Regions from separate parts of the Homo sapiens genome. Here regions 1 and 3 are each linked to region 2. The links are contacts of gene promoters, found by promoter capture Hi-C in blood cells and fetal thymus (Javierre and others, 2016). All regions are on one chromosome and are shown on one strand. The core of a region is centred on a gene start or on the middle of the fragment in contact, and the rest is flanking DNA. Distances in the headings are between cores, read along the strand shown. Region 1 overlaps UPF1 (UPF1 RNA helicase and ATPase). Region 2 holds the start of UBA52 (ubiquitin A-52 residue ribosomal protein fusion product 1). Region 3 holds the start of COPE (coat protein complex I subunit epsilon).

The links. The method cuts DNA at HindIII sites, captures the fragments that hold promoters and counts their contacts. A CHiCAGO score of 5 or more calls a contact.
Region 1: a fragment that was not itself captured here is called in contact with the fragment with the promoter of UBA52 in region 2 in 1 of 17 cell types (M0 macrophages); the score reaches 6.3 in M0 macrophages.
Region 3: the fragment with the promoter of COPE here is called in contact with the fragment with the promoter of UBA52 in region 2 in 1 of 17 cell types (neutrophils); the score reaches 5.3 in neutrophils.

What each region holds. Positions count from the first base shown.
Region 1 is chr19:18,863,777-18,867,501 of GRCh38, forward strand. It overlaps UPF1 (UPF1 RNA helicase and ATPase), which reads left to right. Exons shown (of 24, transcript NM_002911.4): 20 at 394-475; 21 at 1,513-1,674; 22 at 1,785-2,002; 23 at 2,268-2,390; 24 at 2,745-3,725. The coding sequence ends at 2,387. Among named protein-coding and RNA genes, the nearest start is that of CERS1, 31 kb to the right of the region's middle. RefSeq lists a silencer at 2,840-3,039. The HindIII fragment of the contact is 3,225 bases long and covers 162-3,386 here.
Region 2 is chr19:18,569,928-18,573,321 of GRCh38, forward strand. UBA52 (ubiquitin A-52 residue ribosomal protein fusion product 1) reads left to right here and starts at 1,930. Exons shown (of 5, transcript NM_001033930.3): 1 at 1,930-1,982; 2 at 3,366-3,394. The coding sequence starts at 3,374. RefSeq lists enhancers at 1,264-1,940, 1,311-1,430, 1,641-1,980, 2,619-3,295. The HindIII fragment of the contact is 13,368 bases long and covers 1-3,394 here.
Region 3 is chr19:18,917,366-18,921,098 of GRCh38, forward strand. It overlaps COPE (coat protein complex I subunit epsilon), which reads right to left and starts at 2,022. Exons shown (of 10, transcript NM_007263.4): 1 at 1,858-2,022. The coding sequence starts at 1,983. It overlaps DDX49 (DEAD-box helicase 49), which reads left to right and starts at 2,350. Exons shown (of 13, transcript NM_019070.5): 1 at 2,350-2,491; 2 at 3,215-3,338. The coding sequence starts at 2,377. RefSeq lists enhancers at 232-1,122, 2,025-2,624 and a silencer at 1,755-1,944. The HindIII fragment of the contact is 20,861 bases long and covers 1-3,733 here.

The DNA.
Region 1 (3,725 bases), core at 524-3,023, 290 kb after region 2:
CGAGCCGTGTGTGGCATTTTTGGCTTGGGGCCGCTAAGTCCTGGGTGGCCTCTGGGAATTGGGCTCAGGGCTGCTGTGCTGCATGCAGCAGCCTGGGACCTTGGACACGGGCAGTTGGAAGCTTTGCAAGCCCGGGGTGATCTGGTAGTGAGGGGGTGTGAAGCTTCCTGAGCTGAGGCCCAAGGGTCAGCATCAGAGCCCAGGTCTGCCGAGGAGGGCAGGCGAGACCCAGAGGCCATGAGACAGCAGCTCCCTCCTGTCTCCAGGGAGAGCCCCTGGCACAGTGTCAACACCTCACAGCTGCATACCTGCCACCTCCCAGGCCACCGGGCCCGTGGGAAGTTGTTCCTTCTGTTGAGATGACAAATTCCTCACCTATCTAAACCTTCGCAGGGAGCCCGCTTCATGACCACAGCCATGTATGATGCCCGGGAGGCCATCATCCCAGGCTCCGTCTATGATCGGAGCAGCCAGGGTGAGTCGCTCAGCAGGGGACCTGGCCGACCCCTTGTCCTCACACCGGGATGCTGGCCGTTCCCATGGCTGCAGCTTTAGGTGCCCCCATCTTTCCTTCCCCTCAAGGGCGGTGCCTGGCTCCCTTGGCCTCCCCGCCCCTAGGGCATCTCTAGCCCCGGAACACTCCTGGGGTGTTTGTCTTTAACCAGAGTTTATTCATTTGTGTTTCCTGGTGATCAAGCTAGTTAGCTTTTTCTTGCCTTTTGGTAGGGCAGGGACTGCATGTAGTACAAATAGAACATTTTCATAAAAAGGATTTTTTTTTTCCTTTGGTAAATGCAGGGTGATTTTCATTTATTTTCTTTTTTTTGTTTAGAGACAGGGTCTCCCTATGTTGTCCAGGCTGGTCTCAAACTCCTGCCTCAAGCAGTCCTTCTGCTCAGCCTCCCAAAGTGCTGGGATTACAGGCGTGAGTCACTGCACCTGGCCAATTTGCAGGTGTTTTTTTTTTTTTTTTTTTTTTTGGAGACCGAGTCTCGCTCTGTTGCCCAAGCTGGAGTACAGTGGTGTGATCTTGGCTCACTGCAACCTCCCCCTCTGGGTTCAAGCGATTCTCCTGCCTTGGCCTCCCGAGTAGCTGGGATTACAAGCACCCACCACCATGCCCGGCTAGTTTTTGTGTTTTTAGTAGAAACGAGGTTTCGCCATGTTGGCCTGGCTGGTCTCAAACTCCTGATCTCAGGTGGTCCACCTCGGCTTCCCAGAGTGCTGGGATTATAGGCTTGAGCCAACACGCCCGGCCCCAATTTTCAGTTTTTAAGATCTGTGTAGGCCAATGATTCCCAGCAGACTCTCCTCGGGGAAGGTGCCTGCCCAAGCACCCAGCCCCAGGCAGGCTGCTGTAGTTAACATGGAGTCCTGCGAATCCGCATCTTCAGCCTGGGCAGAGCCAGGACAGATGTGCAGCTCCGGCTGACTGGCTGGTGGGGTGGGTGGGGTATCGCTGGGGTTTGACCGAGGCAGGTGACACCTGCCGTGTTCCACTGTGATTTGCAGGCCGGCCTTCCAGCATGTACTTCCAGACCCATGACCAGATTGGCATGATCAGTGCCGGCCCTAGCCACGTGGCTGCCATGAACATTCCCATCCCCTTCAACCTGGTCATGCCACCCATGCCACCGCCTGGCTATTTTGGACAAGCCAACGGGCCTGCTGCAGGTGAGCATCTGTGGCTGCGGCTGGGTGTGGCCCTCCTGAGAGCTCTTGAGGGTGTGCTTGTCTGCGAGGCCCTGGCCTCCTTCGGATCACCCTGGACTGCTGTCTTTCAGGGCGAGGCACCCCGAAAGGCAAGACTGGTCGTGGGGGACGCCAGAAGAACCGCTTTGGGCTTCCTGGACCCAGCCAGACTAACCTCCCCAACAGCCAAGCCAGCCAGGATGTGGCGTCACAGCCCTTCTCTCAGGGCGCCCTGACGCAGGGCTACATCTCCATGAGCCAGCCTTCCCAGATGAGCCAGCCCGGCCTCTCCCAGCCGGAGCTGTCCCAGGTGAGCCCGCCCCTGGGACGGGACTTACCTGAGTGAGGGTGGGGCTATGCACCTGAAACATTCCCTCTGAAGAGCCCCAGAGAGCTGGCCTGGCCCATGTCCACTGTCTGAATTACCTGTCCCTGGGCTGGGGTCATCAGAGTGGGTCTCCTGGGTCTTAGTTTGGGGACGGGTTTTCCATTCTTTTCTCTGGGGCTGCTGAGGGCTGGGTGGATGTGAGCACCCTTGGCCTGTGGCTTGCTTACCTCCTGACCTTGTCTTTCAGGACAGTTACCTTGGTGACGAGTTTAAATCACAAATCGACGTGGCGCTCTCACAGGACTCCACGTACCAGGGAGAGCGGGCTTACCAGCATGGCGGGGTGACGGGGCTGTCCCAGTATTAAAAGGCAAGCCCCCCTGGAGCAGGCCTGGCCCCACCCCAGCCTCAAGGAGAAGGATGGGAGGGGGCTCTCCCCAGGGAGCTGCACTGGAGGGGTGGTATCTGGAAATGTGTGCTGTGCCTGGTGGGGGTCATAGGCCCTCAGGGCCAGCTTGGCCTGTGCCCTTCACTGCTAGTCAGGGTGGCTCCTCACCCCACCCTACCCCATCCTGTCTGCTCCGGGGACCACCGCGGGACCTCAGTTTCCTCATCAGAGTCGGGGAGGGCAGCTCGGGCTCTCCCTCACTGTCCTGTGTGCTGGGTACCTGTGGGGCTCAGGTCGCAGCCTCTCACCGCCTCCTGCCCTTCTCCCTCCTGACAGGTGGCGGCGGAAGAGCTAAGCAACGTGGCTTAGTCCATCAGCATCTTATTCTGGGTAATAAAAAATAAAAATAAACGGATACCTGTTTTCCACTGCTAAAACTGAAGCACCACTGTGTGAGCAACAGGAAGGGAGAGCGCACGAGGGAGAGGAGCCGAGGCCGAGCGCCCCCTGCTGGCCCGCGGCGGCGAGGAGCAGAGGGAGCGGAGGAGGGGCCGGCCCGCGGGAGCCGCGGCCACCAGGAGGCCCCGCTCCGTCCCATCGGGGCTGCGGCCAGGGCGGAGGGAGGAAGACCCTCATCTCAGAGTAGCCCTTTCCTCTGTTCTTTTATTTCTTTTTCTCTTTGATTGAAAGGGGACTACGTCTTAGCAGGAAAAAAAACTTCGCATTTCTGTGCCCGAGCAGGCTCCTTGCAAAGACAGCAGCGTGCGGGGCAGAGCCCCGGGAGGGCGCGTCTGTCCACGCCTACCGGACGCGCCGAGGTCGCGCTGCCTGTGTTCTCCGAGGGCCTTCATTTAAAGAAAATAAGGGTGTTTTGGGTTTTTCTCTTTGTTTTTTTCAAGATTCTTTTAAAGGAGTACTGAAGAATACTTTCCTAAGTTTGTCTGTAAAATCTTAGCGGTGGACCTGGGAGATTTGAGAAGCTTCCAGAAACAGTTTAAACAAGCCAGCGCTACTGGAGAAGAGGAGCAACACCTGTGCCGCGGCCGGAGGAGTTTTGTTGTTGGTTTTAGCTTCCAGTGGCTTCTTTCTGCGGGGCATCAGGCTGCTGGGGTAGCCGCCCGCCGAGCCTGGAAGCTGCTCGTTCTCCGCTGGACTCAGAAGCCAAGCTGCTTCCCGCCTAGACTCGGCGCAGGGCCCCGCACCGGTGAGGAAGGTGCTTTTGGCCCCATTGCGAGGGGCCTTGGCCAGGACTGGCCCTGTGGCCAGGAGGCGAGAAGGTGGCTGTTCCCGGATTGACGGCTTTTTCCCGGGGGCCTT
Region 2 (3,394 bases), core at 680-3,179:
GGAGGCTGAGGCAGAATTGCTTGAATCCAGGAGGCAGAGGTTGCAGTGAGCCAAGATCGCACCACTGCACTCTAGCCTGGGCAAAAAGACCAAAACTGTTGTCTCAAAAAAGAAAAGGAAATTAGGTTCTTAAAGGCATCTTCCCAGACGTGAGAGTGTCTGCTTTTGCCTGGTATAGTAGTGCCTGCAAATGTTCAAGGAAATAAACAGGTACCCCTGTTAAGCCTATAGGTAACTTCTCATTGCTCCCCATCTTCTCTGTACTCAGCACTTTTTTTTTTTGTTTTGTTTTTGAGACAGCACCTCTCTGTTGCCCAGGCTGGAGTGCAGTGGCTGAATCATGGGTCACTGCAATCTCAAACCTATGGGTTCAGGCAATCCTCCTGCCTCCGAAGTAGCTGGGACTGCAGGTGCGCACCACCACACCTGGATAGTTCAAAATAAAACTTTTTTTTGTAGAGACAGGGTCTCACTATGTCTTCCAGGCTGGTCGTGAATTCCTGACCTCAAGTAATCCTCCCTCTTTGACCTTCCAAAGTGCTGGGATTACAAGTGTGAACCACTGCACCCGCCGTGGCACTTTTTTTTTTTTTTTTTTTTTTTGAGATGGAGTCTCACTCTGTCACCCAGGCTGGGTGCAGTGGCGTGAACTCAGCTCACTGCAACCTCCACCTCCCGGATTCAAGCGATTCTCCTGCCTCAGCCTCCTGAGTAGCTGGGATTACAGGCACCCGCCACCACACCTGAAAAATTTTTGTAATTTTTTTTTTCTTTTTTGAGACGGAGTTTTGCTCTTGTTGCCCAGGCTGTAGTGCAATGGCACTCTCTCGGCTAATTGCAACCTCTGCCTCCCGGGTTCAAGCGATTCTCCTGCCTCAGCCTCCTGAGTAGCTGGGATTACAGGCATGCGCCACCACGCCCAGCTAATTTTGTATTTTTAGTAGAGATGCGGTTTCTCCATGTTGGTCAGGCTCGTCTCGAACTCCCGACCTCAGGTGATCCGCACATCTCGGCCTCCCAAAGTGCAGGCGTGAGTCACCGGACCCAGGTCCCGCCCTGGCACTTTTTAACCACCCACAAATCTGGATCCTACACTGAAAAGAGACACTGCAGTGGCTCACGTCTGTAATCCCAGCACTTTGGGAGGCCAAGGCGGGCGGATCACCTGAGGTCGCGAGTTTGAGACCAGCCTGACCAACATGGAGAAACCCCGTCTCTACTAAAAATACAAAAGTGGCCAGGCATGGTGTCGCACACTTGTAATCGCAGCTACTCGGGAGGCTGAGGCAGGAGAATTGCTTGAACCCAGGAGGCGGAGGTTGCGGTGAGCCGAGATCGCGCCATTGCACTACAGCCTGGGCAACGAGAGCGAAACTCCGTCTCAAAAAAAAAAAAAAAAAAAATCCTGAGTCCCGCTTGACACCTTTTGTCAGGCACCACCACCTTTCTGGGCGAATGCGGTAGTACCGTCTGCTCTCCCTGCTGCTGTCCTGAAATCCATTCAGGCACAGCGGCCGAGAGCTTTATAATAACCGATTCCAGGTGTTAGGTGCTTTCCCAGCCCCGACTCCTGCGTCCTGGACCCGCAGTCCTCTGCTTAATACCTTTGCTTTATTAGAAAACATTCTCCTCTACTCCGTTCAGCTATTCGCTGAGGGCCCGCCAACCGCCAGCGGTTGTCAGTGGCCTAGAGGCAGCGGACGCAAACACGGGGAGAGGTGCAATCGTCTCAAGTGACTCGGCGGGCGGGGCCCACAACCGGAAGCGGGTGGGCGACCTTCACCCACGTGCGCTGCGGCTTCGTTCGCCAGCATCCAAGATGGCGGCAGGGCGGGGCCCAAGGCGCGGCGCGAATTGTGACGCAGGCGTCCGGCGTGCTCCGTGCGCAAGCGCTTTCGGCGGCGATTAGGTGGTTTCCGGTTCCGCTATCTTCTTTTTCTTCAGCGAGGCGGCCGAGCTGGTTGGTGGCGGCGGTCGTGCGGGTTCGCGCCGGGCCGAGAGCGGGTTGGGGGCTGCGGGAGGCTGCAGGGGCCTGGGCGGCAGAAGAGGCGGCCCTGAGCTGGCTCATGCGGGCCAGTCTCGGCAGGGTGGCTGGGCAGGGCTCGCGAGGCCACGGCTCGGAGCCCAGACCGGGGCCCAGGAGGCGAGCGCCGTTTTGGAGAGGAGCCTGCCTGCTCTGCCTGCCAGCGTGACCCCACGAGGCCTCGGGCGGGAAGAGGTCCTCGGGGCAGATCCGAGTTAATGAGAGAGGGGTATTGAGCGTGTAGCGTTAACTCTGCCAGTCACTGCGTCAGTCGCTTTGGAAATACTAAATTTCTCGAGCTGAGTCTTCATACCTGGCTCCATTACTACGTCTGTAAGGAGGAGCTGGTGGTAGTGTCTGCTTTTTAGACTTTTCTTTAGACTATTTGTATTTTTTTCAGATGGAGTCTTGCTCTGTCGCCTAAGCTGGAGTTCAGTGGTGCGGTCTCGGCTCACTGCAATCTCCACCTCCCGGGCTCGAGCGATTCTTCTGCCTCAGCCTCCCGAGTAGCTGGGATTATAGGCGCCTGCCACCACGCCCAGTTGATTTTTGTAGTTTTAGTAGAGACGGAGTTTCACCATGTTAGCCAGGCTCATCTTGAACTCTTGACCTCAAATGATCCGTCTGCCTCGGCCTTCCAAAGTGCTGGGATTACAGGCATGAGCCCCTGCGCCCGGTCGATTCTTTGTCTTTTTAAGTCAACTTTTATATGTGAACAATGCTTGGCAGGTGGTTGGTAGATACTAAGTGATGTTCGTGGTTTGGGGTCAAGGCAAGAAGTGGGGTCTGGAGAGTTTTGGTGTAATTGAGAAGGAAGCTAAGAGTGTTGGGTGCTCCAGCTTGGAGTTAGAGAGGAGAGAGGCTGCGACAGGAAGGCATGTGTGTTGTAGGGGATGGCTTCCCATCCAGGCTGGCAGCAGGAGCAGCCTGTGCAGATCAGGACCTGGCTGCCGTGGAAGAGGGTGGGACCGCCTTCAGGGAAGATGGATCTAGCAAGATGATGCCAAAGGGTACTTATTCCATCAGGAGATACTGACGAGTCCTTCCGCCGCTAAACCTAAGGAGAATAACCACAGTCTGTGTTCCTGAAGAGCACCCGTGCGGTCAGGAGGGTGGAGGACATGTGGTCTTTAGTTCCAGGACATGTTTAGACTACAGGCCAGGGTGTGTGAGAAGCCTAGCAGGGCCAGGCTTGGAGGAGTGAAAGGAAGACAGGTACTGGGGCAGGACCAGTTGGACTTGGTGCAGGCAAAGGGATAGCAACTGTGGTGTAGGCACCTGAGCTTGTGCTACTCAGGCATGCATTGCTCACCAGTCTATCCTGCCTCCCTTCCTCCTGCAGACGCAAACATGCAGATCTTTGTGAAGACC
Region 3 (3,733 bases), core at 772-3,271, 350 kb after region 2:
TTCTTTTTTCTTTTTTTTTAATAGAGAAGTCTCGCTCTTGTTCCCCAGGCTTGAATGCAATGGCTGGATCTTGGCTCACTGCAACCTCCACCTCCTGGGTTCAAACGATTCTCCTGCCTCTGCCTCCCAAGTAGCTGGGATTAAGGTGCCTGCCACCATGCCCGGCTAATTTTTGTATTTTTTAGTAGAGACGGGGTTTCACCAAGTTGGTCAGGCTGGTCTCGAACTCCTGACCTCAGGTGATCCGCCCGCCTCCCAAAGTGCTGGAATTACAGGTGTGAACCACCGCGCCCGGCCAGGAAATCACTTCTAACTACAAGCAGCCAGAAAGAGGAGACAGTAAAACACAGAAAGACAGCTCGGACAGAGAGAGAGTGGGAAGAAAATTTCTTGGGTAACTGCCAAACTTCACCTTCATACAACGGGCCCCAGTAAAACAGTGGGCCTTAATAAGCACATTCCTTTCCCTTCAGGTGCACTAAAATAGGCAAGCTAAAAGCAGAGTAGGGGGGTATGCCTGCAGCTGCAGAAAGATGTATGGGAGGCTGGGCACGGTGGCTCACACCTGTAATCCCAACACTTTGGTAGGCCAAGGCGGGCAGATCACAAGGTCAAGAGATGGAGACCATCCTGGCCAACATGGTGAAACCCCGTCTCTACTAAAAATACAAAAATTAGCCGGGCCATGGTGGCGCGCGCCTGTAATCCCAGCTACTCGAGAGGCTGAGAAAGGAGAATTGCTTGAACCTGGGGGCGGAGGTTGCAGTGAGCCGAGATCACGCCACTGCACTCCAGCCTGGCAACAGCGCGAGTCTCCATCTCAAAAAAAAAAAAAAAAGAAAAGAAAAGAAAAGAAAAAAGAAAGATGTATGGGAACAGACACACAACTCTCCCTCCCAGATAAGCACAACGAAGAGACACAGAAGCAGTTCAAGCCTCTGATAAACTCTCCGACCCTGAATCCTTAAAAACTCTTAGTCTGTAAAAGAGTGTTACTCTGACCCAACTCCGCCAGAAGGCGCCTCTCAGGTTTGTTTTCTCTAAAATAAACCTGTCTTGACTGGCAAGCCACCTTTCGTGTTTCTTTCCTCTTTAATTCTTACAACTTTGTCACCCAGGCTGGAGTGCAGTGGCGCGATCTCGGTTCACTGCAACCTCGGCCTCCGGGTTGAAGCGATTCTCCTGTCTCAGCCTCCCGGTAGCTGAGATTACAAGTGCCCGCCACCACGCCCGGCTAATTTTTGGTAGACTCATGGTTTCTCCACGTTGCCCAAGCTGGTCTCGAACTCCTGGGCGCATGCGATCTGCCCGCCTCGGCCTCCCAAAGCGCCAGAATTACAGGCGTTTGAGCCACTGCGCTGGGAAACTGTGTTTATCATTCTGAGTCCAGCGGAATACAGTGCCCGTCCAAAAAAGTGCTCAATGAAGAATGAATGAATGAATGGGTAAGCTCTGGGAGAAATAACCAGGCTGGTTGGGCAGGGAAACGTCCTTCTCTGAACTTTAGGGTTCTCATCCGTAAAATGAGGATAAGCAACAGTCTCCATCTCACGGGAACTGAAGGTATGGCTGAACAAAATAGGCTTATTGTCACTACAGTGGCATAAACACCTCCCTTACTCAAAACACTTTCAAGGGCGCAGAGAGAACGCTGTACGAGTGAGCAGTACCGTAAACTGTTACTGCTCTGGGTTCTGTCACGGGACAGTGACTACTCCTCACTGAACTGTGGAAGAGGTGGCCCAAAAAACGCGAGAAGAAAAGAGAAAGTTTTTAGACGCAGAACGCGGCTCGCGGCCACCAGAAAGCGTCCTCCGCCTCCGCCCCCAGCGTCCCCGCGCCCCTGCGCGGCCGCACCTTCACCCGCTGCGCCTCGTTTATGCACTGCTGGTAGCTGCCGATGTAGAAGGCGTTCTTTACGTCGAACAGCTCGTCTACCTCCCCGGAGCCGCCGGAGGCCGGGCCGGGGGCCGGAGGCGCCATTTCGCTGTCTTCTCACCAGCTCCTCTTCCTGAAAGACACGTCAGCCGGAAGCAAGACACGGGCACGCTAGGAAATGTAGTTTACTTTTTCCGAGCGGCGGCGAAGTAAGCCAATGGGAAGCTCCACAATAATATGCAAGGGGGCGGAAGGCGTAAGTGCGTCACGGAGAGCATCTCGGGAATTGTAGTGTGTTTCTGCAAGCCAATGGGATCCGGGGAAACATGATAAGGATGCGGTCGAGGCTGGGAATAGGCTGAGGGAGCTGGAGAGGGTGGGACCACGCAGGAGGCAGATCCAATAAACAGGAAGATTTTTCTCGTGACGTCGTCGGCGCGCGCCGGAAGCGCGGATCACACGGGCCCCTACAAGGGGCCCCTACAAGCGGCCACAAGGATGGCAGGCTTCGCGGAGCTCGGGCTGTCATCGTGGCTCGTGGAACAATGTCGGCAGCTGGGTTTGAAGCAGCCCACGCCCGTGCAGCTCGGCTGCATCCCCGCCATCCTGGAGGGTGAGTATGGCCCAGGGCCTTCCCCAAGAGGCCTCTCCGCTCCTCTCGACTCCTTTCCCTTCTCGCAACCTTTGCTTATTCCGGTCCCACGAGGCGAGGGGCAACCTCGGGCGTTACAGGAGATCCGGGGTTCCGGAGGACGACTGGACAGTGTTGGCATTTAGGTTGCATGACTGACTCGCTTTGTGTTCGTACGCAAGTGATGTAATCTCTGAAATTTTCATAGTCTCAGCACAGGGAGGGTTTGATGGATGACTAGTCCGATAGTATCGCAAAATCCTGCAGACCTGGTACTGCTATCTTTATTTTACAAATAGAAGTTGAGGCTGTCAAAATTGCTGGTAGATCCAGGACTCCTTGGTCCTGTGATTGCTCCTCTAGGAGAAGGTCTTCTCTCTGCTCCTCTAGCCCAACCCAGTTTCGCCATTAAAGAGAGGCCCACAGGAAGCCTAAGATGTGATAAGTCAGGGATTAAATAAACAAATGAAGGGGTCAACAGGGAGCACAAGATGCATATGAGGGAAGGGAATTCTGGATTCCCCAAATTCACGTGCTCCTGGACGGAGTTAGAACGAGGTGGTAGGAAGCTGTGGGCATCTCGGGTCAAATGGATATGGGTTCCAGTCCAGCCTGCCACTCACTGGCAGTGTGTCCTGGGCAAGGTCTCTGAAACCCAGCTGTCCACACATGGAGGGTGTTGATGCTGCTTTGTCCCCAACCCAGGTCGAGACTGCTTGGGCTGTGCTAAGACAGGCAGTGGGAAGACAGCAGCGTTTGTCCTTCCCATCTTGCAGAAGCTGTCTGAGGATCCCTATGGCATCTTCTGCCTCGTCCTGACACCCACCAGGTAAGCCCCCAGCAGGCCTCCTGGGTATGGGTTAACCAGCTGTGCTCTCTTGGGCAAGCACCTTTCCCTCTCTGAGCGCCCTTTTCCCACGTGTGAGATGAGCATGAAAATCTTGCTACCCGCTTCTTAGGGGTCCTGCAGAATTAAACAAGATGGCCCCGGTGCAGTGGCTCACACCTGTAATCCCAGCACTTTGGGAGCTCCAGGTGAGCGGATCACTTGAGGCCAGGAGTTTGAGACCAGCCTGACCAACATGGAGAAACCCCGTCTCTACTAAAAATACAAAAAATTAGCTGGGCATGGTAGCGCATGCCGTAATCCCAGCTACTCGGGAGGCCGAGGCAGGAGAATCGCTTGAACCCAGGAGGCGGAGGTTGCGGTGAGCCAAGATCGTG